Linked DNA regions of Homo sapiens: regions 2, 3, 4, 5, 6 and 7 are each linked to region 1. The links are contacts of gene promoters, found by promoter capture Hi-C in blood cells and fetal thymus (Javierre and others, 2016). All regions are on one chromosome and are shown on one strand. The core of a region is centred on a gene start or on the middle of the fragment in contact, and the rest is flanking DNA. Distances in the headings are between cores, read along the strand shown.

Region 1 (3,748 bases), core at 748-3,247:
CAGAGGGTTGGAAGGATAGGGACTAGAAAGCGGGGAGGAGAAAGGAGTTTAGAGTGTGTGTGTGTTGGGGGGTGCTACTGAGGGGAGAAGGGGAGATTATTCCTTTGCTTTAAAAAATTGCATGAATAAAGCCACTGAGCTGTAAACTCATATGTAAATTCTTCTTTTCTGGTCCCATTAGCTCTAGAGGAAACTCCTCATCACCAGGAGGCTCTGCTCCCTACATTCTGAGATGGTTAGGGAAGGGTGGGAGTCAGGGCAGGGTCTACTCTAGATTGAGGGTGGTGGGTGGGCACAGGCAGCCAGGCTGGCAGGGACAGGATGAAAGTGAAGCATTGTGTGTAGAGAAGAGAGCTGCCAGCTGGGTCACATGCCAGGCTCTCGTGCAGTCCTGTCTGACGCAAAGGCTGAGGGTCTGCAGGTCCAGCCCCTCCCTACGGCCAAACTGCCTCAAGAAGAAAACGAAGGCCTTCATGGTTTATGCTGCAATATTCATACTACTAGAAACTCTGGAGAAAAATCCTAAATTCCTTCCTCTCTCTGTCTCTTATTCCCTTAAATTCCTCAAACTTGTGAGATGTCCTGCTCTTATCCTTGACCTATTCTGCTAGCCCAAGGGAGAGCTGGAGGCAGCCTCTCATTTTACCATATCTGTGGGACCCCCCAACAACTCAAACTCCCTGGTCTGTAAAGGTGCCTGTCCACTCTGGTCAGAGCCTCAACACACTTATTCTGTCTCTTCCTCCTCTTTCCCTCTTTTTTTCTTTCTCCTCAGATGAGATTTGTGACTCTCCATTTGGCTGCCTGCCTGCCCCCATCCTCTCTGCATTTGCCTTCTGCTCTCTGGACACCCACCTCACCCTGCTCTTTCCACAAACCTCAGTTACACACCTAGTATGTGCTGGACACTGTGCTAGGCACAGGAAACACAAAAATGAGGTCTAGGAGTTCCTGGGGACACTCCTGGAGCGCTTCAGCCTGTTCTCCCAAGAATCCCTCCTCATCTCCTGGGAGCTCCTGAAAGTCCTTTGTAAACTGTAAAATGTCAAACAAATGTTGACTCTTACTGCCACTTTCAGAGGATAACTGGGGAGTTAGTCGCTCCACAGAATGAAGAGGGAATCTTGGCCAAAAGGGGATGAATTGGAGATCAGGGTCTGAGTTGGGCAGGAAGTATTCTTCCCCCTACCCCCATCTATCCATCTTTTTACTCCAGGCCTCTTTGACTCCCTATTTGGAGGAGTTTGTAAATAAAGAAGTCCAGGAGTCCTGCCTGGGACCAGGGCAGTGGGGGAAAGAGCTCTGGAGAAAATCTGTAGCCTGCAAAGAGATTCCAGCACTTGCATGTGTACACACTCTGCCTGCCTGCCGCTAGTTCTCCCCGACCTCCAATAACAACAAGGCTGGAGAGACAAAAGGTAAAGAAGGGAAGTGGTCTCCTCCACACCCCACTCTTTTTTCCTCATCTCTGAGCCTATTATTCCAGCCTCTAGGCTTCCTTTCACACCTCTCCTCCCCCCATTAAGCACACCTGGCGACATGTGAACATCAGCACAAATCCACACACAGACATTTAGTTGTACCTACCCCCATCTGCAGCCAGGATCCAAATCACCTCCAGCAGGAGGGCGGAGAACAACATAGTGTCCCAGGAAGGGGTGCAGGGGACTGGGAATTTGAGGACTAGAGGACTAGGACAGGCAGAGAGAGAGGGAGGGAGGAGTGAGAGAGAGAGAGAGAGAGCGAGCGAGCTCCTGGCGTGAGTGTATTTATCTCTGCTTCTCTTGCTGTCTCTGTCTCTGTGGGCTTCCAGGGGATTCGGTGTTCAGTAGGGTATCATGGGTTTCTGGATCCCCAGGACAAATCTCTTGCTGCCTCTTTGCCCTCTCTCTTTATCTCCCTCTGCAGTCTCCACTCCACTAGCTGGCCAGCGACTTTACAACTGCCTCCTGCTTTTAAGGTGGCTCTGAACTGGTGTATGTGGGGACGGGGGTGCTGCCTGGGCTGCTGGTGAACAGCTCCTTAAATAGCCAATTAGGCATGCAGGATGGCCCCACTCGGAGCTGGAGCGCGGCAAGTTTCACTGGAGCCCTGGCCCTGGCTCAGGAGCCCAGCTGGGGTGAGCTCTTCCTTCCTCTGCTAGTCACACAGATGCTGTTTAGATGGGTGTTCCCTGGAGCAGGCAGGGTCAAGGAAGGGGCTTTGGGGTTCAACTCAGCCCCCTCAAAAGGACACTGTATTTTCATCCCCCCGCCTGATTTCTCCTCTGAGGAGCAGCTCCCTGGGTGGTATGCGGCAGATGGTGGGGGTACCTGTTCCCAATTCCCTGCATAATCTGAGCTGCCCTGGAATGGGAAGAGTCCAGAATTAGGAGATATATAACAAGAAGGAATTAGGGACTCAGGGTGCAGGGGAGGGGTGGAGGAAGTCAATAACTAAAACCTGAGTTGTGTCCTAAGTTCTAAGGAAGAGAAGTGAGGCAAGGAGAACTCATCTGGAGCAATCTCTTCTGTGCCTGCCACCACCCCCTTCCCACGGTGAGGCCTGGGTCCACGTGCCTGTGTGGCCTGGGGTGGGGGGAGTGCGGGGAGGGAGCGTTGTTTGCTGGATAAAGCCCATTTGTATGCCCAGTGGGGGAGGGGTGTAGCAGCACCATGGAGAGACAGCGGCTGTAACTGCCAGACCCAGCCACCTCCCTCTCCAGGGAGCCCAGATCTAGGGCGGCTTTTGTCACTGAAGAGGACACTGACCTCCGGCAGAGAGGCCAGGGCAGGAGGAAAGGAGAGACTTTAGGAACAATCACTACCACCATCAGAAAAAGGTGGTTTCCAGAGAAAGAGAGGGGAGGGTCTGGAGAGACCATGTGATCCAGATGGAAGAGGGGCTCAGGGTCTTCCTTCCAGCCCAACAAAGGGCTGAGGCAGGACATGTGGCACTGAATGAAACCTGCCACCAAGGAGCTGCGTCCGTGGAGCATGGAGGCTGCACGTCTCAGGAATGTGAACTGATGTTTGCTCCCCACGGGACTGGAAATCCCGATTGGAATGTACATCCTAAATCCCTCGTTAGAGAATGTGAAACCCACAGATACTTTCAAGCCAGACATTGAAACCTCTTTCTCCTCCATGCTCTTCACCAGAGGCACCAGCCAGGAGGATGCACCCATCTGAAGCTCCCTCTGCCCTCCTTGCTCCTGCCGAGTAGCAATAAATAGCCAAACAAAGGGAGCAGAAGCTAAATAAGGGAGCAGGATAAAAGCCAAATGAACAGAATAATGCATGTGCTGGATCATCAGCTCCTGCAGAGACAGGAGCTCACTGTGCCTTTCTATCCCCTGTGATTGATCTGCAAAGCCAAGCCATTTTGCTGATGTCATTTCCCTTTTTCTTCTCCTATCACCCTCTGAGTTATTTGTCCCCTTCAGGAAAGTTTTATGTTTTGAGGTTCCCCAAAGCCCCATCCATCCCATCTAAGAAGAGTAAAAGACTTGAAGTATAAATTAGATTTCCCGGGAATCAGGGTACTTAACACAAAGAAACAAAAAAAGAAAGCAGAGACATCTTGGTATGAAAGAAGAGATTTAGTAGGAAAGAAGAGGTCTGAACAGAATGACCTCTGCCGGAACAGAGTTCCCCTGGAGCGCTGAGCTGAGATTCCGATTTCCAAGGCAGATAGCGTGTCTTGCCAGGCGCCACCTCCTGGCTCGTCTATGAATTTTTAAATTTTAATTTAAAATGCTTTGTGTATG
Region 2 (3,748 bases), core at 404-2,903, 240 kb before region 1:
CAAAGTGCTGGGATTATAGGCGTGAGCCACCGCCCCCAGCCTGTTTTATTTTTACTTTTTGGGACGGAGTCTTGCTCTGTTGCCCAGGCTAGGGTGCAGTGGTGTGATCTTGGCTCACTGCAACTTCCCAGGTTCAGCGATTCTCCTGCCTCAGGCTACTGAGTAGTTGGGACTACAGGTGTGTCCTAACACCTCACCCGGCCAATTTTTATATTTTTAGTAGAGATGGGGTTTCGCCACGTTGGCCAGGCTGGTCTCGAACTCCTGACCTCAAGTGATCCACCCACGTCGGCCTCCCAAAGTGCTGGGATTACAGGCGTGAGCCACCACACAGGCCTCATTTATTCATCTTCTAACTCCACCCTCAGGCCCTACTTTACTGAAAATGGTCCTTTGAAATCCAGCAGCCTTTTTACTAAATCCAGTGGACACTTTTCAGTCCTTTTTTCCCCTTGGCTTCTTTTTTTTTGAGACAGGGTCTCACTCTATCACCCAGGCTGGAGTGCAGTGGGGCGCAATCTCGGCTCACTGCAGCCTCTACCTCCTGGGACCAGGTGATCCTCCCATCTCAGCCTGCTGGGTAGCTGGGACCACAGGCACAAGCTACTGCACCCGGCTAATTTTTTTTTTTTTTTTTGGTAGACACAGGGTCTCCCTGTGTTGCCCAGATTGGTCTGCCATGTGTTTTCATCCTTATCCCCAGCCTCTGCCTACACTGTTCCCTCCTGAAACACATCTTTACTTGGCCAACACTCACCTTTCAGATTGGAAAGTGATTCCTGCAGGACACCTTTTGTAACCTCCCCGAGTAATGCTAACCCCAGCTAACGTGCTCTCTTGGTACCTACACAGCACAGATCTCGCAGCACTGATATGGCCTATTTACCTTCAGCAGCCCTCACTAGATTGCAGATGCCAAGAGGGCAGAAAGTATATTGTTTTTCTTTATATCCTACGTAAGTTTAAAAATATTTCTTTGTGGCCGGGTGCGGTGGCTCACGCCTGTAATCCCAGCACTTTGGGAGGCCAAGTGGGGTGGATTGCCTGAGGTCAGGAGTTCGAGACCAGTCTGGCCAACATGGCGAAACCCCATCTCTATTAAAAATACAAAAAAATTAGCCGGGTGTGGTGGCGTACACCTGTAATCCCAGCTACTCGGGAGGCTGAGGCAGGGGAATTGCTTGAACCAGGGAGCTGGAGGTTGCAGTGAGCTGAGATCACACCACTGCATTTTAGCCTGGGTGACAGAGTGAGACTGTCTCAAAAAAAAAAATTCTTTGTATCTATTAAATATTTACTAAAACAAAGCAAAAAATAAATAAATACAACACTAACCAGGGTCCCAAGCTTACCTTAGGTCCATAGAAGGCACCATCTCCAGAGTTGAGGTCCCAGGGTTCTCCAAATTCCTTCAGGGCCTGTTTAAGGACCTTTGAAGGAATGAGACAAGAGTGGAATACATCATCTTAGACTTCAAAAGCAACACATCCGGTCAGTCCCCAACAAATGACCCACTCACCAGATGCCTCTGAGAACCTTGATTACTGTATTCTCCACTCCTTCCCACCAGAGAGTGGTTTATCTGCCTCTATTTCTCTACCTCCTACTCACCTGTTCGGCCTGGTCCCAAAGGCAAGGGTCCCCCAGGAAGCCAGATGGCCGGGTGGACAGTGCCAGGCGGAAGGAGAAGCCAAGAACGGCATAGACGGAACGGAGGAAATCAAGACAGCTTTGGATCTCTGCTTCCAGCTAGGGGCAGGAAATAAGGGTCAGTGAGCTGTGAGCCCGCTAGAGATCAGGGATGCTGGCAGTTTGAGGAAAACAAAGGGCAAAAACAGAGAGGAAGCGGAAGCAAGCTGGGGGTAGAATGTAGCTGAATTATAGTACATACAGGGGGCAAATAAAGATCAGGGGTTTGCAGGTTCATAGGGAGAAAGAAAGGTGGTTTAGAAAAGCTTTGGTGGAGCCAGGGAAAGGCCACCTGATCTGTTGTACAGAAGATGTGAGCGTCATCCTGCTGGAAGCACCGCAGTCGGGTCAGTCCCCCCAGACCACCAGAGGCTTCGGCCCGGTGTAGAGCCCCAAAGTCAGCTAGTCGCAGGGGCAGTTCCCGCCAGGATCTGGGCCGGTGGGCGAACATCAGGCTGAGGTTGGGGTGCAGAGGGGTCAGGGCCATAGGGAGGACTAGCCCCCGAAGACTGCTCCTCCACCCAATCTGCTTGCCTACTTTCTCTGCACCATCTGCTATAACCCTCTCCAGCCTCAGCACATCCTCCCACTGAGTCCTGTCAATCCCACTCATCACAGTCTGAGCCCTGAGGTTCAAAAGTGGATTTCTCAGTAACACAATAACAGACATCGTTTACCATTTCCCTGTTCTGTGATGGTCACTGAGCTGAAGGAGGAGCCTTAGATAGCAACTTTAAGGAGACTGAGACCTAAAGAGGTAAAATGAGTTTCCCAAATTTACATGGTTAGCTAGGGGGAAGACTGTAGGCTCAAATCGGTGTCCCAATACTCTTTCCAAGGTGCTTTCTTTTTTTTTTTTTTTTTGAGATGGAGTCTCGCTGTGTCACCCAGGCTGGAGTGCAGTGGCGCGATCTCGGCTCACTGCAAGCTCCACCTCCTGGGTTCACGCCATTAGCCTGCCTCAGCCTCCTGAGTAGCTGGGACTACAGGCGCCCGCCACCGTGCCCGGCTAATTTTTTGTATTTTTAGTAGAGACAGGGTTTCTCCATGTTGGTCAGGCTGGTCTCAAACTCCCGACCTCAGGTGATCCGCCCGCCTCGGCCTCCCAAAGTGTTGGGATTACAGGCGTGAGCCACCGTGCCCGGCCCCAAGGTGCTTTCTATTATTTAATATTTAGCAACCTGATTGTAACCCTAGCTCCCAGCTTACCAGTGTGCAGGGCAGTTCATAGGCTTGAGGGCGAGTGTATCTGTGATATGCCTGGTAGAATCGTCACTCTGGGAGCTGGGAGGCCTGTCAGAGCCTGGGGGCTGCACGGCAAACATGTCTTCCTGATAATGCTCCCAGTGCCCTGACTGTTCCCAGAGCTTCGTAGAAAACAGTGTGGGAGTTTTCACCTCGGAGAAACCACGATGGGCATACTCAGCCTGGAGAGGAGGGTACAGACATGGAAGGTCAGAGTAACTGGAAGGAAAGCAGGTAGGGTGTCAGCTGTGTGATCTTCCTGGGCCCTCAGGCCATGCTGATTGCAACCACAACCTATTAAATACCAGGTCCCATCTCTATGCTCCCCGACTGCAGACCACACAATTGTAGTATTAAAGGTCACCAGCACTTTCAATATTTATGTTTATGATTCCAAACCAGCCCCCCCACCTTTTTTTTTCTCTTCAAGACGGAGTCTCACTGTATCACACAGGCTGGAGTGCAGTGGCTCAATCTCAGTTCACTGCAACCTCCCCTTCCTGGGTTCAAGGGATTCTCCTGCCTCAGCCTCCCCAGTAGCTGGGACTACAGGCGCTGCCACCACACTGGCTAATTTTTTGTATTTATTTTAGTAGAGACAGGGTTTTGCCATGTTGGCCAGGCTGGTCTCGAACTCCTGACCTCAGGTGATCTGCACGGCTCAGCCTCCGAAAGTGCTAGGATTATAGATGTGAGCCACTGTGCCCGGCCCCAACCCCCATCTTTTAACACAAACACCTTAGCTTCTTCTAGTCCCTCAGCCCCTCCCTGGTCTTCTTTCCTCTAGACCTGGGTCCCCTTACCCTGATAAACG
Region 3 (3,748 bases), core at 664-3,163, 230 kb before region 1:
CAGTGAGCTGGGTGCTGAGGGGATGCCGATCAATCAACTACCACATCATCACCTATGTAACTTGTGTTGCAGTGGAGGAAGGAAGGAATGTTGAGTTATTCCATCCGCCCTCTGTAAGAAGCAAGCAAGCAAGTAAGCAAGTGCAAGAGCAAGCTAAGGCCAATTCATGAGTTACTGGTTCTTCTACAACTTCGGACTTGTGACTAGCATATGCCTCAGTATTGGGGAATTTTAATCCATTAGTCAGCCTAGGAAACATCTATTCTTTTTTTTTTTTTTTTTTTTTTTTTTGAGGTGAAGTCTTGCTCTGTTGCCCGGCTGGAGTGCAGTGGCATGATCTTGGCTCACTGCAACCTCCGCCTCCTGGGTTCAAGTGATCCTCCTGCCTCAGCTTCCCCAGTAGCTGGGATTACAGGTGTACGCCACCACACCCAGCTAATTTTTTTTGAGTCAGAGTCTTGCTCTGTCGCCGAGGCTGGAGTGCAGTGGCGCTATCTTGGCTCACTGCAACCTCTGCCTCCCGGGTTCAAGTGATTCTTCTGCCTCAGCCTCCTGAGTAGCTGGGATTACAGGTGCGCGCCACCACGCTCGGCTAATTTTTGTATTTTTAGTAGAGACAGGGTTTCACCATGTCAGGCTGGTCTCGAACTCCTGACCTCGTGATCCGACCACCTTGGCCTCCCAAAGTGCTGAGATTACAGGCGTGAGCCACTGTGCCCGGCCTGTTTTTTGTTTTTTGAGATGGAGTTTCACTCTTGTTGCTCAGGCTGGAGTGCAATGGCACGATCTTGGCTCACTGCAACCTCCGACTCCCAGATTCAATCGATTCTCCTGCCTCAGCCTCCCGAGTAGCTGGGATTACAGGTGCCCGCCACCACACCTGGCTATTTTTTTGTATTTTTAGTAGAGATGGGGTTTCACAATGTTGGCCAGGCTGGTCTTGAACTCCTGACCTCAGGTGATCCACCTGCCTTGGCCTCCCAAAGTGCTGCGTTTACAGGCGTGAGCCACCATGCCTGGCTTGAAACATCTATTCTTAAAACTTGGGCTGTTGCCCCTCCACCCTAGACTACTACTGAACACCCGGTGCTATGCCTTCACTATTTCACCTAATTCCTAAAACAACTATGTCAAGTATACTCCCTTTAAAACAGGAAAATGATTCTCAAAGAAGTAAAGCCCCCAGTCTATCTGAATGCAAAGCCCTTGTTGTTTATGCTATGCCATACTGCCTCTCAGGGACCAGATTGGTCATAATGTGTCAGGTTATAAGATTCTGATACTTGTGGCCAAATAGGCCTTTGATATAGGGTAAAAGAGGTGGGTCCAATAGAAAGCCAAGAAAAGAGGCGTCTTCCGACTTTTCTCTACCAGATTAAGGTTAAGGAAAAAAGTGTGCACAAAATAAAGCTAGATTTCCACAGAAGTGCAGGAAAAAGGGAATCCACAGTGAAGGGTGTCCTAGGCCCTTAGTAAAATTTTAGGAAATTCTCAGCTTAACTCCACTTTTGGAATAGAAATTCCAAGGTGACTAGAGTCCTAGTTCAGAAGGTATTGTTTTTATAGCTTTAAACTACATGTAACTTTAAACTACATGTAAATATTTTCCACTTGTCCTCAGGATCAGCACATACCTCCAAATCTATCTTACTTCTTAGAAGCACTAAAGATGTAGAAAGTATATTTGGCTGGGTGTGGTGGCTCACGCCTGTAATCCCAACACTGGAGGCTGAGGCAGGCGGATTGCTTGAGTCCAGGAGTTCGACAACAGCCTGGACAACATAGTGAGACCCCCATCTCTACAAAAAATAAAAAATTAGCTGGGCATGGTGGTATGTGCCTTGGGAGGCTAAGGTGGGAAGATTGCTTGAGCCCAGGAGATCCAGTGCAGTGAGGCGTGATTGCACCACTGTACTGCAACCTGGGCAACAGAATGATACCCTGTCTCAAAAAAAAAAAAAAAAAAAAAAAAAAAAGAGAAGGCAGAGGCCGGGCACAGTGGCTCATGCCTGTAATCCCAGCACTTTGGGAGGCCGAGGCGGGTGGATCACGAGGTCAGGAGATCGAGACCACCCTGGCTAACATGGTGAAACCCCGTCTCTACTAAAAATACAAAAAATTAGCCGGGCGTGGCAGCGTGCGCCTGTAGTCCCACCTACTCGGGAGCTGAGGCAGGAGAATGGCGTGAACCCGGGAGGCGGAGCTTGCAGTGAGCCGAGATCGCACCACTGCACTCCAGCCTGGGCAACACAGCAAGACTCCGTCTCAAAAAAAAAAAAAAAAAAAAAAGAGAAGGCTGGATGCAGTGGCTCACGCCTGTAATCTCAGCATTTGGGAGGCTGAGGCAGGTGGATCTGAGGTCAGGAGTTTGAGATCAGCGTGGCCAACATAGTGAAAGCCCGTCTTTACTAAAAATACAAAAATTAGCCAGGCGCGGTGGCTCACGCCTGTAATCCCAGCACTTTGGAAGGCTGAGGCGGGCAGATCACCTGAGGTCGGGAGTTCGAGACCAGCCTGACCAACATGGAGACACCCCGTCTCTACCAAAAATACACAATTAGCCAGGTGTGGTGGCACATGCCTGTAATCCCAGCTACTTGGGAGGCTGAGGCAGGAGAATGGCGTGAACCCGGGAGGCGGAGCTTGCAGTGAGCCGAGATTGCGCCACCGCACTCCAGCCTGGGTGACAGAGAGAGACTCTGTCTCAAAAAAAAAAAAAAAAAAAAAAAAAAAAAAGCCTGGCGTGGTGGCGCATGCCTGTAGTCCTAGCTACTTGGGAGGCTGAGGTGGGAGAATCACTTGAACCCCAGAGGCAGAGATTGCAGTGAGCCGAGATCGTGTCACTGCACTCCAGCCTGGGCAACCAAACAAGAATCCGTCTCAAAGGAAAAAAAAAAGATATTAGAGGTTAAAAAAAAAGGAATAAGGTAAAATATATAAAGAAAGGATTATGAGGCCGGGTGTGGTGGCTCATACCCGTAATCCCAGCACTTTGGGAGGGTGAGGTGAGCAGATCACTTGAGGTCAGGAGTTCAAGACCAGCCTGGCCAACATGGTGAAACCCATCTCTACTAAAAACACAAAAAATTAGTTGGGCATGGTGGTGCACGCTTGTAGTCCCAGCTATTCGGGAGGCTGAGGCGGGAGAATCGCTTGAACCTGGGAGGTGGAGGTTGCAAGGAATTAAGATCATGCCACTGCACTCCAACCTGGGAGACAGAACAAGACTCCGTCTCAAAAAAAAAAAAAAAAAAAGAAAAAAAAAAAGAAAGAAAAGAAAGGATTATGTCATTGCTAACAAAAACCTTTGGGGCCCAGAGAAGTAGCCAAGTGGCTAAAGGCACAAGTGGTAGGGAAGTTAGGTTTATTTTTTAAAAAATAATTCCCTAGTAATGTAAGTGGAAGATCTGGGATGGGGCCAATCTTTAACTTTGCTTTAAAATGCCATCATAGGCTGGGCATGGTGCCCCACACCTATAATCCCAGCACTTTGGGAAGCCAAGGCAGAGGACCGTTTGAACCCAGGAATTCAAGACCAGCCTGGATAACATAGTGAGATCCCATCTCTACAAAAATAAAAAAAATTAGCTGGGCATGGTGGTGCATGCCTGTAGTCCCAGCTACTCAGGAGGCTGAGGTGAGAGTTGCTTCAGCCCAGGAGTTGGGTTACAGTGAGCTATGATTATGACACTGCACTCCAGCATGTACAACAGAGTGAGGCCCCCGTCTCTAAAAATAAAATAAAAGG
Region 4 (3,748 bases), core at 402-2,901, 200 kb before region 1:
AACCAGGCTGGAGTGCAGTGGCTTGATCCTGGATCACTGCAACCTCTGCCTTCTGGGTTCAAATGATACTTATGCCTCAGCCTTATGAGTAGCTGGGATTACAGGTACGTGCCACCACAGCTGGCGAATTTTTTCTTTTTTTGAGACGGAGTCTTGCTCTGTTGCCCAGGCTGAAGTGCAGTGGCGTGATCTTGGCTCACTGCAACCCCCGCCTCCCAGGTTCAAGTGATTGTCCTGCCTCAGCCTCCCAAGTAGCTGGGACTACAGATGCATGCCACCATGCCCAGCTAATTTTTGTATTTTTAGTAGACAGGGTTTCACCAAGTTGGCCAGGCTGGTCTTGAACTCCTGACTTCAGGTGATCCGCCTGCCTTGGCCTCCCAAAGTGCTGGAAATACAGGCGTGAGCCACCAAACCTGGCCTAATTTTTGTTTTTTGTTTTTTTTTGAGACGGAGTATTGCTCTGTCGCCCAGGCTGTGCAGTGGCGCGATCCTGGCTCACTGCAAGCTCCGCCTCCTGGGTTCAGGCCATTCTCCTGCCTTAGCCTCCCGAGCAGCTGGGACTACAGGCGCCCGCCACCATGCCTGGCTATTTTTTTGTATTTTTAGTAGAGACGGGGTTTTACCATGTTGGCCAGGATGGTCTCGATCTCTTGACCTCGTGATCCACCCGCCTCGGCCTCCCAAAGTGCTGGGATTACAGGTGTGAGCCACCACGCTCGGCCATAATTTTTGTTTTTTTAAGTAGAGATGGGGTTTCGCCATGTTGTCCAGGTTTGTCTCCAACTCCTGGCCTCAAGTGATCAACCTGCCTCCACCTCCCAAAGTGGTGGCGTGAGCCACCACACCTGGCCCTATAGTATTCTTCATAACAGTAAAAAACTGGAAACATACTAAGTGCCTAATAATAAAGGATTAGATAAGTTACCACATGCTATGCAGCTATTAAAAATGATGTAGAGAAATATTTAATGATTCATAAAAACATTCAAGATATGTAATTAACTTTTAAATAGCTAGTTTTGAAACAGTATATGCAATACACTTACTTTTTTAAAAATTGTTATACATATTTAATTCTCCAAAACATTCATATACACATATACTTTTAAGGGTAAACACAAGTGGTTTCCTTTGGGGTAACAGGATTATAGATATTTATTAAAAAATTTTTTTCATTTAAAATTTTTTATTTAGAGATAGGGTCTCACTATATTGCCAAGGCTGGTCTCGAACTCCTGGCCTCAGGCAATCTACCATCTCAGCCTCCCAAAGTGCTGGGATTACAGGCATGAGCCACCACGCCTGGCCTAGATATTTATTTCATTCTCTTTGCTTATTTTCTAATTTTTCTATAATGACCGATTATTGGATTATTTTTTAATTTAACAATTAATTTAGCTGGGTGCGCTGGCTCACGCCTGTAATCCCAGCACTTTGGGAGGCCAAGATGGGTGGATCACCTGAGGTCAGGAGTTTGAGACCAGCCTGACCAACATGGTGAAACCCCGTCTCTACCAAAAATACAAAATTAGCTGGGCATGGTGGCACATGCCTGTAGTCCCAGCTATTTGGGAGGCTAAGGCAGAATTGCTTGAACCTGGGAGATGGAGGCTGCAGTGAGTGAAGTTTGCACCATTGCACTCCAGCCTAGGTAACATGACTGAAACTCCGTCTCAGAAAAAAAAAAAAAAATCATTAATTAAAAAAAATCAACAACAGACTGGGCACGGTGACTCACGCCTATAATCCCAGCACTTTGGGAGGCCGAGGTGGGTGTATCACCTGAGGTCAGAAGTTCAAGACCAGCCTGGCCAACATGGTGAAACCCCATCTCTACTAAAAATACAAAAATTAGCCGGGCGTGGTAGCAGGTGCCTGTAATCCCAGCTACTTGGGAGGCTGAAGCAGCAGAACACTTGAACCCGGGAGGCAGAGGTTGCAGTGAGCCAAGATTGCACCACTGCACTCCTGCCTGGGAGACAGAGCGAAACTCTGTCTAAACAACAACAACAACAACAACAACAACCCCCCCAAAAACAGATTAATGATTCAATTTAAAAAGATGGAAATTAACTTTTTATCCTCCTTACTGGGCTTACTTACCAGTATTTTTCATGACTGATGTTAAACTGCTAAGGATGGAACTGATCTTTGCCAGATCCACATTAGCCAGGTTTGGCAAAGCCAATGCTGGGGAAGGGGAAAGAGAAGTATTCACAGGCTTTGGAAGAGGTGGAGTTGCTGTCATGGTCACAGGCACTGGGGTACATGAAGAGGCCTTTGAGATATTTTCTGTTGGCTTTGTAGGTACAGAAGTGGATACAGCTGACTTCTCTGCAGGTTTTTCCTTCCTGTCCTCGACTGTTTCAACAAAGAAAAGAGATATTACATCCTACTACTTTCCAGACTTTGCTTCCTATATGAAATAACATGTCCTAATATTTCCGGACTTGGGGGAAAAGGCACTACTTTAGAGAAAACAACGACTCACTTCATGCTTTTTTGAAAAAGTCATACTCTTCATAATTTATGATAATTCCCACCTTTAATATCTGCTTAAAAGCAATTTCCAGCTGGGGACAATGGCTCATGTGAGGTCAGGATTTCGAGACCAGCCTGGTCAACATGGTGAAATCCTGCCTCCACAAAAAATACAAAAAATTAGCTAGGTGTGGTGGCAGGCGTCTATAATCCCAGCTACTACAGAGGCTGAGACACGAGAATCGCTTGAACCCAGGAGGCAGAGGTTGCAATGAGCCGAGATTGTGCCACTGCATTCCAGCCTGGGCAACAAAGCGAGACTCCCGTCTCAAAAAAAAAAAAAAAAGCAAGCAATTTCCAGAATTTATCTTGTATCTTACTTTTCAATGATTCCTTTGCATTTTCTTAGTATTTGTGTATTAAATCTGTACAATTCAAGAAGCATGTTATTATTTGGTACACATTTGTGTTCTGTCTTTTGGAAATGATATTTTTCATAAATTGTCCTGTGTTTTTCTTTTCCATTAACCTGAGAACTTTCTAAGAACTTCTGTTCTTAGAAACAGAACCTCTATAGTGTTCATTGTATTTTCCTCTGGCTTCCTGAAATTGCCCTATTGGGGGGTGCAATCAGGCACTAGCTAATTTGAAACTACAATGTTTTAACTCTCAATCACCTTGAATAATTATTTTTAATGCTTTAAGGGCTGTATCAATAGTGCATTGAATTCAACAGGAGTCAAACTATCTAATAAGATTTATGAAGGCTGGGGATATAAGAGAAACAATTCACCAAATCAGGTTATTTCTGAAAGTGTGATTAACAAACTGACTTTGGAATTCTTGATGGTCAAAAGTGACAGAGAATAAGGAATTCCAGTATAAGTGACCCCTCATCCCAAAACAGTGCTATTTAACATGAATACAATTTAAGCCACATATGCCACATATGTAAGTTTAAATTTTCTAGCAGCCAAATTAACAAAAAAAGAATCAGGGCCGGGCATGGTGGCTCAAGCCCACCTCCCAGCACTTTGAGAGGCCGAGGCAGGCGGATCACTTGAGGTCAGGAGTTCGAGACCAGCCTGCCCAACATGGTGAAACTCCGTCTCTAATAAACATACAAAAAATAGCCGGGTGTGGTGGTATGCACCTACAATCAATCCTAGCTACTCGGGAGGCTGAGGCAGGAGAATTGTTTGAACGCAGGAGATGGAGGATGCAGTGAGCCAAGATTGCGCAACTGCACTCCAGCCTGGGCGAC
Region 5 (3,748 bases), core at 896-3,395, 180 kb before region 1:
TTAGTATGATTTACAATTTACAATGCAAGGAAACTAGATGGTCTAACTAGATTTTATGAGGCATTAGAGTGACTTCATTAAAGAGCATACCCATACCAATTAACCATACATGTGAAATACAACTGTCTATATATAACCTAGTACACCAAGAAAGTACTAGAAATGAGAACAACAGAATTTACTTATGAAATTTATATGCATGAAATAACTACCTGGGAAACCAGAGGTGCCACAACTGCTTTCTACCCAAGGATCTCCTTATGAGGTAAACCAGTATGATTACTGGAAAAATGACACATATGGAAAGAAAATCTGACTTACTCTAAAAGGATGTAAGCATTACCTTTTAAGCATTTGAGAGTTTCTGTGCTGCACACATCCACCCTCATAGTTGACAACTGCTTTTCCTTCAGTTCTATCTGATCTTCTGAGCGCTTGTATAGCAACAGCTCTTCAATTAGGGCCTGAGACTAAACACAGACCAGAGTCATATTTCATTTACAAGATCATTCAATTATTCTCATTCTCTCTCTCCTCATTTTGTAAAACAAAACAAAACAAAACAAAACAAACACCCTAAAGCTTAACAAAACCCTGGGAGGAAAAAAACTTTTCACTTTTTCTCATGGTGACAGATATTAATGATCAATTATCATGTCAAAACCATGTTTAGTTATAGACTTCATTTATTTATTTATTTTTTGAAATGGAGTCTCGCTCTGTCGCCCAGGTTGGAGTGCAGTGGCACGATCTCGGCTCACTGCAAGCTCCGCCTCCCGGGTTCATGCCATTCTCCTGCCTCAGCCTCCTGAGTAGCTGGGACTACAGGCGCCCGCCACCACGCCCAGCTAATTTTTGTTTTTTTTTTTTTTAATTTTTAGTAGAGACGGGGTTTCACCGTATTAGCCAGGATGGTCTCGATCTCCTGACCTCGTGATCCGCCCACCTCGGCCTCCCAAAGTGCTGGGATTACAGGCGTGAGCCACCGCGCCCAGCCTAGTTACAGACTTTAAAAGATCCTTTTCCTTCATTACACAAAGCTAATTTATGGATACAGAATTAAGACTAAAACAGACAAAGGTCCATTTATATAGCCTCTCTAAATTTTAATTACATAAACATAGCCTTCTGTTATTCTAAGCAAATTCTAATTTAGAAAGAGTTTCACAGGAAAATAAACTCTCTTGCTGGCATAAATTGAATATGCAACTCAGCTGATAATAGATATACTGGAAGAAGGTTATTTCTACCATTAGGGGAACAGATAAAACGCCAAGCAATCTAATCCCAATCTGGGTTCCTTTAGAACAGTTCATGCATGTTTAAAACATGACATGTGTAATTGAATACAGATAAATCTTATTGGACTATACAGGAAACTATAATACAAAAGGGGTGAATAATACTTTGCTATATTAAACAAATTCTGTAACTTACTCGAAATTCAGCAACTATCTTAGACTTGAGAGCAGCTTTTGGATTTGTAGATGCTGTTGGAATTAAACAAAAGGTCATTAAGAATACAGACACAAAAAGTTGACTAACAGGAAAAATTTTAGCTCTATAGTTAAAGATATACTCTGAACATATGGCAAACATGCACATTTAAGTCATAATTCCTAAAATAAATAATGGACTAGGAAATTTAAACATTCCTAAATGTGGTCAATGTAAAAATACGCTATTTAGACAGACCTAACCTACTTACCTCCAACAGACCCTTCAGGTCATAAAGTCCTAGAATTATTGATTTGGAGACACCGAGATACATCAAGTACCTTTTTTTCCTAGTCTGGGTGTAACAGGATCTAAATACCTCAAATTAAGAGTGTTCAGGAACAGGACATCCAATTAATCCTGAGCACTGGCTGAAGAAAATTGGTGACAAATAACTCTATTCCTATAAATTTATCCTTTGAATTTCTTTTTCTGCTGACTCAATTCATAGCAAAAATAGGCAAGGAAACTTCTAGGTATATTAATACTGTGGTGGAACTTTGGCTGAAATGACGACTCCTGTTGTTCCTAAGCATGCAACTTATGACCAAGAAGATGTCTGAGGACTCCCTTAATCATGATGGATATCATATGCTCGCTGGAGCAAAACCATCCCAAGTATCTCGTTTCACCTCCCAATTCTCACTGTCTTTTACTTTGTTCCCTCCACACCTTCAAGTCTCTCTCAATATTCCTCAGTTTGCCCACAGCAGCCTATCACATGCAGTATTCCATTCCCTTGATCTCATGCTGGGTAAATACGATAAATATAACAGGAGCTCCCATTACAGAATGAGCTTCTGGCCAGGATCTGAGGTCCATGTCTAATTTGGTAGAGTATATCCCCCAAATCTGGAGATTTCATGGTTCCCACAGAAATGCTTCTTAATGCCTAGTCTCCTCTTCAGATCTGTTGTTTAATGCCAGCTGCCTCTAACATCATATATCCTTGAACCTGAAAATTATCCTGGACACTATCAAGTATTTTTTTCTTCTTGCAATCCCCCAACTACTCTTGAATCTTCACTCAATTAAACCCTTTTCTGCATTTCCTTTGTTTTAAAGTGTAGTTTTTGTTTGCTTTTTTTTTTTTTTTTAGAAGTATCTCCATGATGGCTTGTTTAGCATAGGTCACTGGGAGCCTCCCAGACCTGGAAAACAGGCTTGCCCATGGTTTATGCCAGGTACGATGTCAAATGGTCTACATTTTCTTCTGCTCCAAAAAGAGGAGGTAATTTTATATTAGTTGAGATTTTGTTCCTTACTTTGTGATTTCTTCCACTGCTTATTCGGTTGTTTGTTCAGATTTTCTTTCAGCTGCTTCTGAGTTTTGAAAGTGGTACCTGGAAAACATTTCAGTTTTTGCAATCTGGCATTATGGGAAGCTGTTCTGTCTGTCCACTTCAGTGCCAAAGTTGCAGCATGAAAAAAGGCAATCCGAGACTGTGTGTTGTTTCTTTCTTTCCTTTTCTTTCATTTTTATGAAAAAATAGAAATTCCTACCCGATCTAAGAAGCTGTCAAATAAACACGATTTTTATCATCAGCGAAATTACCAATTCTGAAAAGAATAGGGGAGGAGGCTTAAAAATACCAATTAACAAATTAAAATGAAGAATTTAACAGCTTCTTAGAAGATGCCATTTTTAAAGCAAATTTCTAGTAAAATGACGGTCATGGTAGCAGATTATCACAAACTTCTGTTCAATAACTTAATTACATGCATATAATACATAATTCCTTTTAACAAAACAGTACACCACTTACTGTAAATCTAAATCAAAAGACAGTCTAAAGACTGCTGATATATGCTTACTACCAAACAGCTTAGTAAGAACTGACACCCTGTGCAAAAATTCTCCAACAGTAAGGGCACAGGGCAGTATTTATTAACACAAACAATGAACCATTTGAAACACTCAACGCAAATGCAGGAAAATAACCAGATGGCTATTACCACTTAACATGCTTGACTTTTGTAGTCACTAAAAAACAAAATCCGACCCCATCCCTAAAACCAATTCTACTTACATTTTAATTCAAACAGATCTAGATTTTTCATAAATATTTAACTTTAAACAAATAGGGCTAGATTCAAAACTTAATTTTTCACTATTATACAACATGACCAGATCTATAAAATTATGTAATTGTAAAGACTGACTCAAAAATTTTCTTTTAGGAGAGAAAAAGACACTTACTCAAAGCTTCTCTCAATGCCACAATCATTTCTTCTGGGTATACATTTCTAT
Region 6 (3,748 bases), core at 761-3,260, 160 kb before region 1:
AATGAAATGTGTTAAAACAAACAAACAAAACAGACACAGCAGTTAGAAGGAAGCACATTCAGAGATTATCACCAGGAGACATACATGGTCAAGTAAGGATAAACAGGAGACCAGCTTTTGAAAACAGAAGAGAGAGCTTTTAAAAGAAAAACATGGCCAGGCACAGTGGCTCACGCCTGTAATCCCAGCACTTTGGGAGGCTGAAGCAGGTGGATCATGAGGTCAGGAGATTAAGACCATCTTGGCTAACATGGTGAAACCCCATCTCTACTAAAAATACAAAAAATTAGCCGGACATGGTAGCACGCACCTGTAGTCCCAGCTATTTGGGAGGCTGAGGCAAGAGAATTGCTTGAACCCGGGAGGCGGAGGCTGCAGCGAGCCGAGATCGCGCCACTGCACTCCAGCCTGGGCAACAGAGCGAGACTCTGTCTCAAAGAAAGAAAGAAAGAAAGAAAAGAAAGGAAGGAAAGGAAAGGAAAGGAAGAAAGAAAGAAAGAGAGAGAGAGAAAAAGAAAAGAAAAGAAAAGAAAGAAAGAAAAACGTGTGTTAACAAGAAAGTAATAATCAACCATTTAGGCAAATTATCCTTAATCTTCAAGCATGTTCAATTATTACAGTTCTTAATGGGTTAAGAAACTAAAATTCTAAGTTGTCTAAGTTTAGATCCCATAGAGCAATAAAGATTTACTTACTTCACTAGAGCAGCTGCTTCAGGAAGTACATCAGCAAATGATTCACGGAATATGATTGCATTTTTCCTTTTACAGTTCTGTATGACATCATTGGCAAGGTAAAAGAGATTCAAACGGTGGGGATATGCAGCTAGAGATGACAAAAGACAATAAATAAAACCAAATGAGTCAATTTGCACTTAGTTCAACTTATTCCAAATACAGTGTTCTCAAACTGTAACTGGTTATTTTTTTTTTCTTACATGGATATAAAAAGATGAATGTAATTACATGGATGGAAGGGAGGAAGGATGGATGGATAAACCGACAAATGAACTAATGGATGGAAGGGAGGCTGGATGGATAAACTGACAAATGAACTAATGGATCAGTTTACCAAACATACTAAAAACCTTGACTACTTCACGTTAAGTTTCTGTTCAAGGTACTCCTCAAGGACATTTCTCCCTCACTTTGTAGATGTTTGGCACTAAAAAAAAAGACCCAGTAACTCTGGAGAAGCTAAAATAAAACAAAATTATAGTCTCAAACATCTGAGAAGACAAAAAAAAAATGAGTTGAACATGCTCAACTTGTTGCAGAAATACCAAGGTTAGTAGAAAGAGCATGGGCTTTGTAATCAAATCAGAATGTGACCTCAAGCAAATTGCTTAACATTTATTACAGATAGACCCTCTCCCCATCAACCAATCCAGATACTACTCAGATACGTCTTAGTCTTCCCATCTACTGGAGGGAGGCTCTGCTGCTGCTTTCATCACTAGACGAATGTCCTGCAAAATAATATGATCCTATGTATGCATCTAGGTTAAGCTTTTCTTCTTCTTCTTTTTGTTTTTTTTTTTTTTTTTTTGGAGATGGAGTCTCACTCTGTCGCCCAGGCTACAGTGAAGTGGCGCAATCTCAGCTCACTGCAACCTCCGCCTCCTGGGCTCAAGCAATTCTCCTGTCTCAGCCTCCCAAGTAGATGGGACTACAGGTGTGCACTACCACGCCCAGCTAATTTTTTTGTATTTTTGGTAGAGATAGGGTTTTATTATGTTGGCCAGGCTGATCTCAAACTCCTGACTTCAGGTGATCTGCCTGCTTTGGCCTCCCCAAAGTGCTGGGATTACAGGTGTGAGCCACCACACCCAGTCGGTTAAGTTTTTCAATGGTTCATGACAAAGCCCCATCAATGTACTATCTGGAACCCTGAGCAAAGTCACCTTAAATTTCATTATTATGCTGGGTAATTTCAATGTCTATATGGATGATCTACCATGTTTTCTTGTCTCTCAGTTCCTTGACCTCACATTCGGTGACCTCCAAGAACCACTCCTTTGTACATTTTAAAATCTCCTTCTCTGATCACAACCTCCCACTCCTATTATACTTGTTCTTCAATTTCATCAAGATCTCAGCTTTTTATTTTCTCTAACTCTACATTCTCTTCTCAGTACTCAATTCTTCATCAATTCCAGAGTCTCTGTCCATTATTTAAACCAATATTTTATTAAAACCCTCATACTCTTGTCCTTCTCCCTAATTCAGCCTTCTATCTCATGTGCTCAATGAAATCCCAAATTTGGATCAATCTAACTAACTGCATTTACTGCACCTTTATTTCTGCTGCTGGGTTCTAAAATCACATACAAAAAATTAAATCATACGAATTAAAAGTCTCCTTCTTCACCTGGGCCCGCAATGCTACATACAGTCCCTCCACATGTGCTTAGTCAGCATCCTCTCTCAAAGAACTATTTCAAATTTTAACCACTTGTCAGGCCCGAATCTTTACCACATCTCTTCTTCTCACTCTCAGGAGATAAGCTTATATGCTGTTTCACAGAGAAGGCAAAAATCATTAAATGGAAATTATCTTGTCACAAAAAATGTATCCATATTTAAACTCACCTAGATCAATTTACCTAGTAAAAAGCATCACTCCTATTAAAGAGTAATCCTTCCACTACGTACTGTTTCCTAGACTCTATTCACACCTTGAGAACCTTATGCTCCATTAACTATGCTTGCTTCTTTTTTTGTGTTTTTTGTTTATTTGGAGACAGGGTCTCACTCCTGTCACCTAGGCTGGGGTGCAGTGGTGCGATCACAGTTCACTGCAGCCTCCTTGGGCTCAGGTGATCCTCCCACCTCAAGCCTCTCGAGTAGCTGGGACTTCAGGCATGCCACCATGCCTGGCTAATTTTTTTTTGTATTTTTAGTAGAGACAAGGGTTTGCCATGTTGCCCAGGCTGGTCCTGTACTCCTGGGCTCAAGCAATCTGCCCGCCTCAGCCTCCCAAATTGCTGGGATTACAGGCATGAACTACTGCACCTGGCTTATCCTCGCTTCTTGTATTTTAATTTGATTCTTATTTGTATTTACTTATTAATTATTATTATTATTATTTTTGAGACAGTTTCACTCGTCGCCCAGGCTAGAGTGCAATGGCACAATCTCGGCTCACTGCAACCTCCGCCTCACGGGTTCAAGCTATTCTCCTGCCTTAGCCTCCCGAAGTAGCTGGGATTACAGGCACCTGCCACCAAGCCCAGCTAATTTTTTTGTATTTTTAGTAGAGATGGAGTTTCACTATGTTATGCTGGCAGGCTGGTCTTGAAATCCTGACCTCAGGTGATCCACCTGCCTTGGCCTCCCAAAGTGCTGGAATTACAGGCATAAGCCACCGCACCCGACCTCTTATTTATATTTATATATTTATATTGTATTCCTTCAGGCTGTCTCTCAACATATGTATATGCACGTCTCTCCTATCTTAAAGTTTTCTTGTGACCACCTTAGGTTACCCCTAGCCTTTCCTTCCTTGCCTAATGTTAGTTAAGACCTTTTAGGGTGAAGAGTCTGAAAGAGTTTTGTATACTCACTGTCTACACTTTTAACTCCCATTAACTCCATAATTATAGGAGCCACTCTTTTATTGCACTTATGCAATCTACCATGCTAAGAGCTTTTTATAAATTGTTATCTCATTTATGTTGCGAACAGTTCACTCAAACACCAATTTTCAAGGTTACTAACAAATTCCAATTTACTAAACTCAATGGAGA
Region 7 (3,748 bases), core at 503-3,002, 130 kb before region 1:
CACATGAGACCCTTATCTCTACAAAAATAAATAAATGAATTAAATAAAATAAAGGTCATTAGGTGAAGATCTGTTGGTTTCTAGCTTTTGTCTTTATGGAAATGTCTTTATTTTGCCCTTGTTCTTAAAACTTAGTTTTGCTAGGTAGACAATTCTAATTTGATGGCTGTTTTCTCTCTGCACTTTGAATATTTTATTCCAATGTCCTCTTGCTTCCATAGTTATCAATCTGTCATTCCTTTGTAAGTAATTAATAATCTATAATTATCAATTTGCATTTCATGATCTGTGCAGTGATAGTTTCATACTGTAAGAATACTGTATACTGAGGATAGAATACCCATCCTCTCCTACTGTTTTTAAGAGCTTCTCTTTGACTTTGATATTCTTCAGTTATCTATAAAGTATGTACAAGTAGATTTCTTTTTATTTAACCCCCTTCCTTCATATGCATATGGTCCCTATATATATTCACATATTTCATCAATTATTCCATTTTCTCCATTATTCCTTTAAAATATTGCCTGTTCTTAATTCTCTCCTTATAAGACTTCAATCACACATGTTAGACTCATTATGCTCTTCCTTTTAACTTATTTCTTAACATTACATTCTGGGAAATTACTTCAGATCTTTCAGTTCATGAATTCTCCCTTTGCCAATGGTCTTATCTGTTGTTCAAATCATCCACTAAGTTTTCAATTTCAACAGTTATACTTTTATTTCTAACATTTCTCTTTGGTTCTTTTTCAAATTTGCATAACTGTCTAAGAGTTGTTCCTTGATATATTTTAGATTCCTTTATTAATTTAAATATTTTATACATGGTTCTTTTTATTTATTTATTTATTTATTTTTTGAGACGGAGTCTCACTTGTCGCCCAGGCTGGAGTGTAACGGCGTGATCTCGGCTCACTGCAACTTCTGCCTCCCAGATTCAAGCGATTCTCCTGCCTCTGCCTCCCGAGCAGCAGGGAGACTACAGGCATGTGCCACCACGCCTGGCTAATTTTTTAATATTTTTAGTAGAGATGGAGTTTCACCATGTTGGCCAGGCTGGTCTTGGAACTCCTGACCTCAGGTGATCTGCCTGCCTCGGCCTCCCAAAGTGCTGGGATTACAGGCGTGAGCCACTGTGCCTGGTCAGTTGTTTTATATTTCATATCTTATTATTTCAATAGTTTAAGTCTTTGGGGTTTGTTTCTATTAAATCTCACCCACAGTTGTTTATTTCTTTGTGTTTGGCAATTCTTTTATTGTAAGCTTATATTTTGTTGAATTTTATCTATGGGAATTCTGAAAGCCTAATCAGAGAAAGCTTTTTCTAAAAATGTATTTGCATTTACTCTGGCAGAGAGTCAAGGGCAGTAGTGACCCAGGTTCAATTCAGCATCTTTCTCAAGGGGCTTTTCAACGTTTCTGGGGGCCCAAGGCTTAGTCTCCCATTAGTGCTGATGTGAGCGTTTGCCTTCAGGAAAACGTTGCCAGTCTTGTTTGCTCACAAGCTTACTCACTGCTCCTGTTTCAGCTGACTCTTTACTTCTGTGAATGAACAGACCCTTGGAAACCTCCCTTACTTTTTTAGTACACCCAGTAATGCATTAAAATGTGTGCTTGTTAATGTCTACACAGAATTCTGAAAAATTTACATAGATGCTGCCTCCTCAAGGAGGTAGACGGCATAACTCCCCTAAATTGTGGGCTGTGCAGTGACTTCTTCCCAAAGAGTACAATGTGTAAGAGGCTTCAAAAAAGAAGAAATCTGAAAAAAACTATCTCAGCCAGGTGATCAAGGTTAGTATCATTAGCGGTAAAACATGTTGATAGGATGGACACTCTTGATATCATGTGATGAAAATGGAACTTTACCTCTGTGGTCTTCCTCCAAAGAAACAATAACCCCAGCTAATCATTAAAACAAAAAACAACCACAAAAAAACAGACAAACCCACATTGAGGGACATTCTACAAAATATCTGACCAAATCTAGGGAAGCTTAAAAGAAAACTGTGGACACAGTGGCTCACACCTGTAATCCCAGCACTTTGCGAGGCCGAGGCAGGCAGATCGCTTGAGCTCAGGAGTTTGAGACAAGCCTGGGCAACATGGTGAAACCCTGTTGCTACAGAAATTACAAAAATTAGCCAGGTGTAGTGGTGCATACCTGTGGTGCACACCTATAGCCCCAGCTACTCGGGAGTCTGAGGTGGGAGGATTGCTTAGACCCGAGAGGTCGAGGCTGCAGTGAGCTGTGATTGTACCACTGCACACCAGCCTGGGCAACAGAGCAAGACTCTGTCTGCAGGGAAAAACAAAACAAAACAAAACAAAACTGTCAAAATCTAGAGGAGCCTAAAGAGATATAATAATTAAATGTGGAGTTATGGAGAAAACAACAGTAGGTAAAAACTAAGGCAATTCATAAAATATGGACTCTTAATAATTACATATTAGGCCAAGTGCAGTGGCTCACGCCTGTATCCTAGCACTTTGAGGGGCTGAGGCAGGCAGATCACGAGGTCAGGGGTTCAAGACCAGCCTGGCCAATATGGTGAAACCCCGCCTCTACTAAAAATACAAAAATTAGCTGGGTGTGGTGGTGTGTGCCTGTAGTCCCAGCTACTCAGGAGGCTGAGGCACAAGAATCGCTTGAACCCAGGAGGCGGAGGTTGCAAGATCGCGCCACTGCACTCCAGCCTGGGCGACAGAGTGAGACTCCATCTCAAAAAAAAAAAAAAAATTACATATCAATATTGATTCATTGGTTTTAATAAACGTAACATACTAATGTAAGATGTTAACAACAAGGGCAACAGGATGCAGGGTGTATATATGTGTGTGTGTGTGTGTGTGTGTGTGCGCGGGTATATATATATAGTGTATGTGTATATATGCATATACATATATATGTGTGTATACATGTATATATGTATATATATACATGTGTATATACACGTATATACATGTGTATACGTGTATATGTGTATACATGTATATATGTATATGTGTGTGTATATACACATGTATATACACATACATATATACACACACATACAAGCACTCTCTGTACTATCTTCACAACTTTTCTATAAATCCAAAACTACTGCAAAGCTAAAATTTTATTTAAAAATTATGTCTGGGCCAGGTGCAGTGGCTCATGCCTATAATCCCAGCACTATATGAGGCCAAGGTGGGTGGTTTGCTTGAGCTCAGGAGTTTAAGACCAGCCTAGGCAACATAGTGAGACCCCGTCTCTACAAAAAAATACAAAAATTAGCTGGGCGTGCTAGTGCACCCCTGTAGTCCCAGCTACTTAGGAGGCTGAGGTGGTAGGATGGCTGAAGTCTAGGAGGCAGAGGTTACATTGAGCTGAGATCACACCACTGCACTCCAGCCTGGGTGACAGAGTGAGAGACACTGTCTCAAAAAAAAAAAAAAAAAAAGAGAAAAGAAAAAAAGAAAAAAATGGCCAGGAGCAGTGGCTCACGCCTGTAATCCTAGCACTTTGGGAGGCCGAGGCAGGCAAATCACCTGAGGTCAGGAGTTCAAGACCATCCTGGCCAACATGGTGAATCTCTGTCTACTAAAAATGCAAAAATTAGCCGGGTGTCATGGTGCCTGCCTGCAATCCCAGCTACTGGGGAGGCTGATGCAGGAGAACCACTTGAACCCAGGAGGCAGAGGTTGCAGTGAGCCAAGATCACGCCACTGCACTCCAGCCTGGGTGACAAGAGTGAAACTCCGTCTC

Evidence for each region. The method cuts DNA at HindIII sites, captures the fragments that hold promoters and counts their contacts. A CHiCAGO score of 5 or more calls a contact.
Region 2: a contact is called between a fragment that was not itself captured here and the fragment with the promoter of CA14 in region 1, in 7 of 17 cell types (M1 macrophages, endothelial precursors, M2 macrophages and 4 more). The highest score is 11.6, in M1 macrophages.
Region 3: a contact is called between a fragment that was not itself captured here and the fragment with the promoter of CA14 in region 1, in 4 of 17 cell types (M1 macrophages, endothelial precursors, M2 macrophages and 1 more). The highest score is 10.5, in M1 macrophages.
Region 4: a fragment that was not itself captured here is called in contact with the fragment with the promoter of CA14 in region 1 in 5 of 17 cell types (M2 macrophages, M1 macrophages, megakaryocytes and 2 more); the score reaches 9.9 in M2 macrophages.
Region 5: a fragment that was not itself captured here is called in contact with the fragment with the promoter of CA14 in region 1 in 5 of 17 cell types (M1 macrophages, M2 macrophages, M0 macrophages and 2 more); the score reaches 9.6 in M1 macrophages.
Region 6: a fragment that was not itself captured here is called in contact with the fragment with the promoter of CA14 in region 1 in 2 of 17 cell types (M2 macrophages and M1 macrophages); the score reaches 5.6 in M2 macrophages.
Region 7: a fragment that was not itself captured here is called in contact with the fragment with the promoter of CA14 in region 1 in 1 of 17 cell types (M1 macrophages); the score reaches 7.0 in M1 macrophages.

Annotation. Positions count from the first base shown.
Region 1 is chr1:150,256,023-150,259,770 of GRCh38, reverse strand. CA14 (carbonic anhydrase 14) reads right to left here and starts at 1,997. Exons shown (of 11, transcript NM_012113.3): 1 at 1,588-1,997. The coding sequence starts at 1,642. RefSeq lists an enhancer at 3,113-3,748. The HindIII fragment of the contact is 8,593 bases long and covers 1-3,748 here.
Region 2 is chr1:150,496,898-150,500,645 of GRCh38, reverse strand. It overlaps TARS2 (threonyl-tRNA synthetase 2, mitochondrial), which reads right to left. Exons shown (of 18, transcript NM_025150.5): 9 at 3,738-3,748; 10 at 2,899-3,116; 11 at 1,982-2,144; 12 at 1,612-1,749; 13 at 1,353-1,430. Among named protein-coding and RNA genes, the nearest start is that of MIR6878, 6.4 kb to the right of the region's middle. The HindIII fragment of the contact is 608 bases long and covers 1,350-1,957 here.
Region 3 is chr1:150,481,031-150,484,778 of GRCh38, reverse strand. LOC124904416 (a long non-coding RNA gene) reads right to left here and starts at 268. Exons shown (of 2, transcript XR_007066600.1): 1 at 1-268. The HindIII fragment of the contact is 5,385 bases long and covers 1-3,748 here.
Region 4 is chr1:150,458,676-150,462,423 of GRCh38, reverse strand. RPRD2 (regulation of nuclear pre-mRNA domain containing 2) reads right to left here. Exons shown (of 11, transcript NM_015203.5): 9 at 2,107-2,364. Among named protein-coding and RNA genes, the nearest start is that of TARS2, 27 kb to the left of the region's middle. The HindIII fragment of the contact is 5,293 bases long and covers 1-3,748 here.
Region 5 is chr1:150,440,973-150,444,720 of GRCh38, reverse strand. RPRD2 (regulation of nuclear pre-mRNA domain containing 2) reads right to left here. Exons shown (of 11, transcript NM_015203.5): 3 at 3,698-3,748; 4 at 2,763-2,840; 5 at 1,438-1,490; 6 at 344-470. Among named protein-coding and RNA genes, the nearest start is that of TARS2, 45 kb to the left of the region's middle. The HindIII fragment of the contact is 3,121 bases long and covers 585-3,705 here.
Region 6 is chr1:150,414,673-150,418,420 of GRCh38, reverse strand. It overlaps RPRD2 (regulation of nuclear pre-mRNA domain containing 2), which reads right to left. Exons shown (of 11, transcript NM_015203.5): 2 at 696-825. Among named protein-coding and RNA genes, the nearest start is that of RPRD2, 52 kb to the right of the region's middle. The HindIII fragment of the contact is 999 bases long and covers 1,511-2,509 here.
Region 7 is chr1:150,387,609-150,391,356 of GRCh38, reverse strand. All of the region lies in intron 1 of RPRD2 (regulation of nuclear pre-mRNA domain containing 2), which reads right to left. Among named protein-coding and RNA genes, the nearest start is that of RPRD2, 25 kb to the right of the region's middle. The HindIII fragment of the contact is 490 bases long and covers 1,508-1,997 here.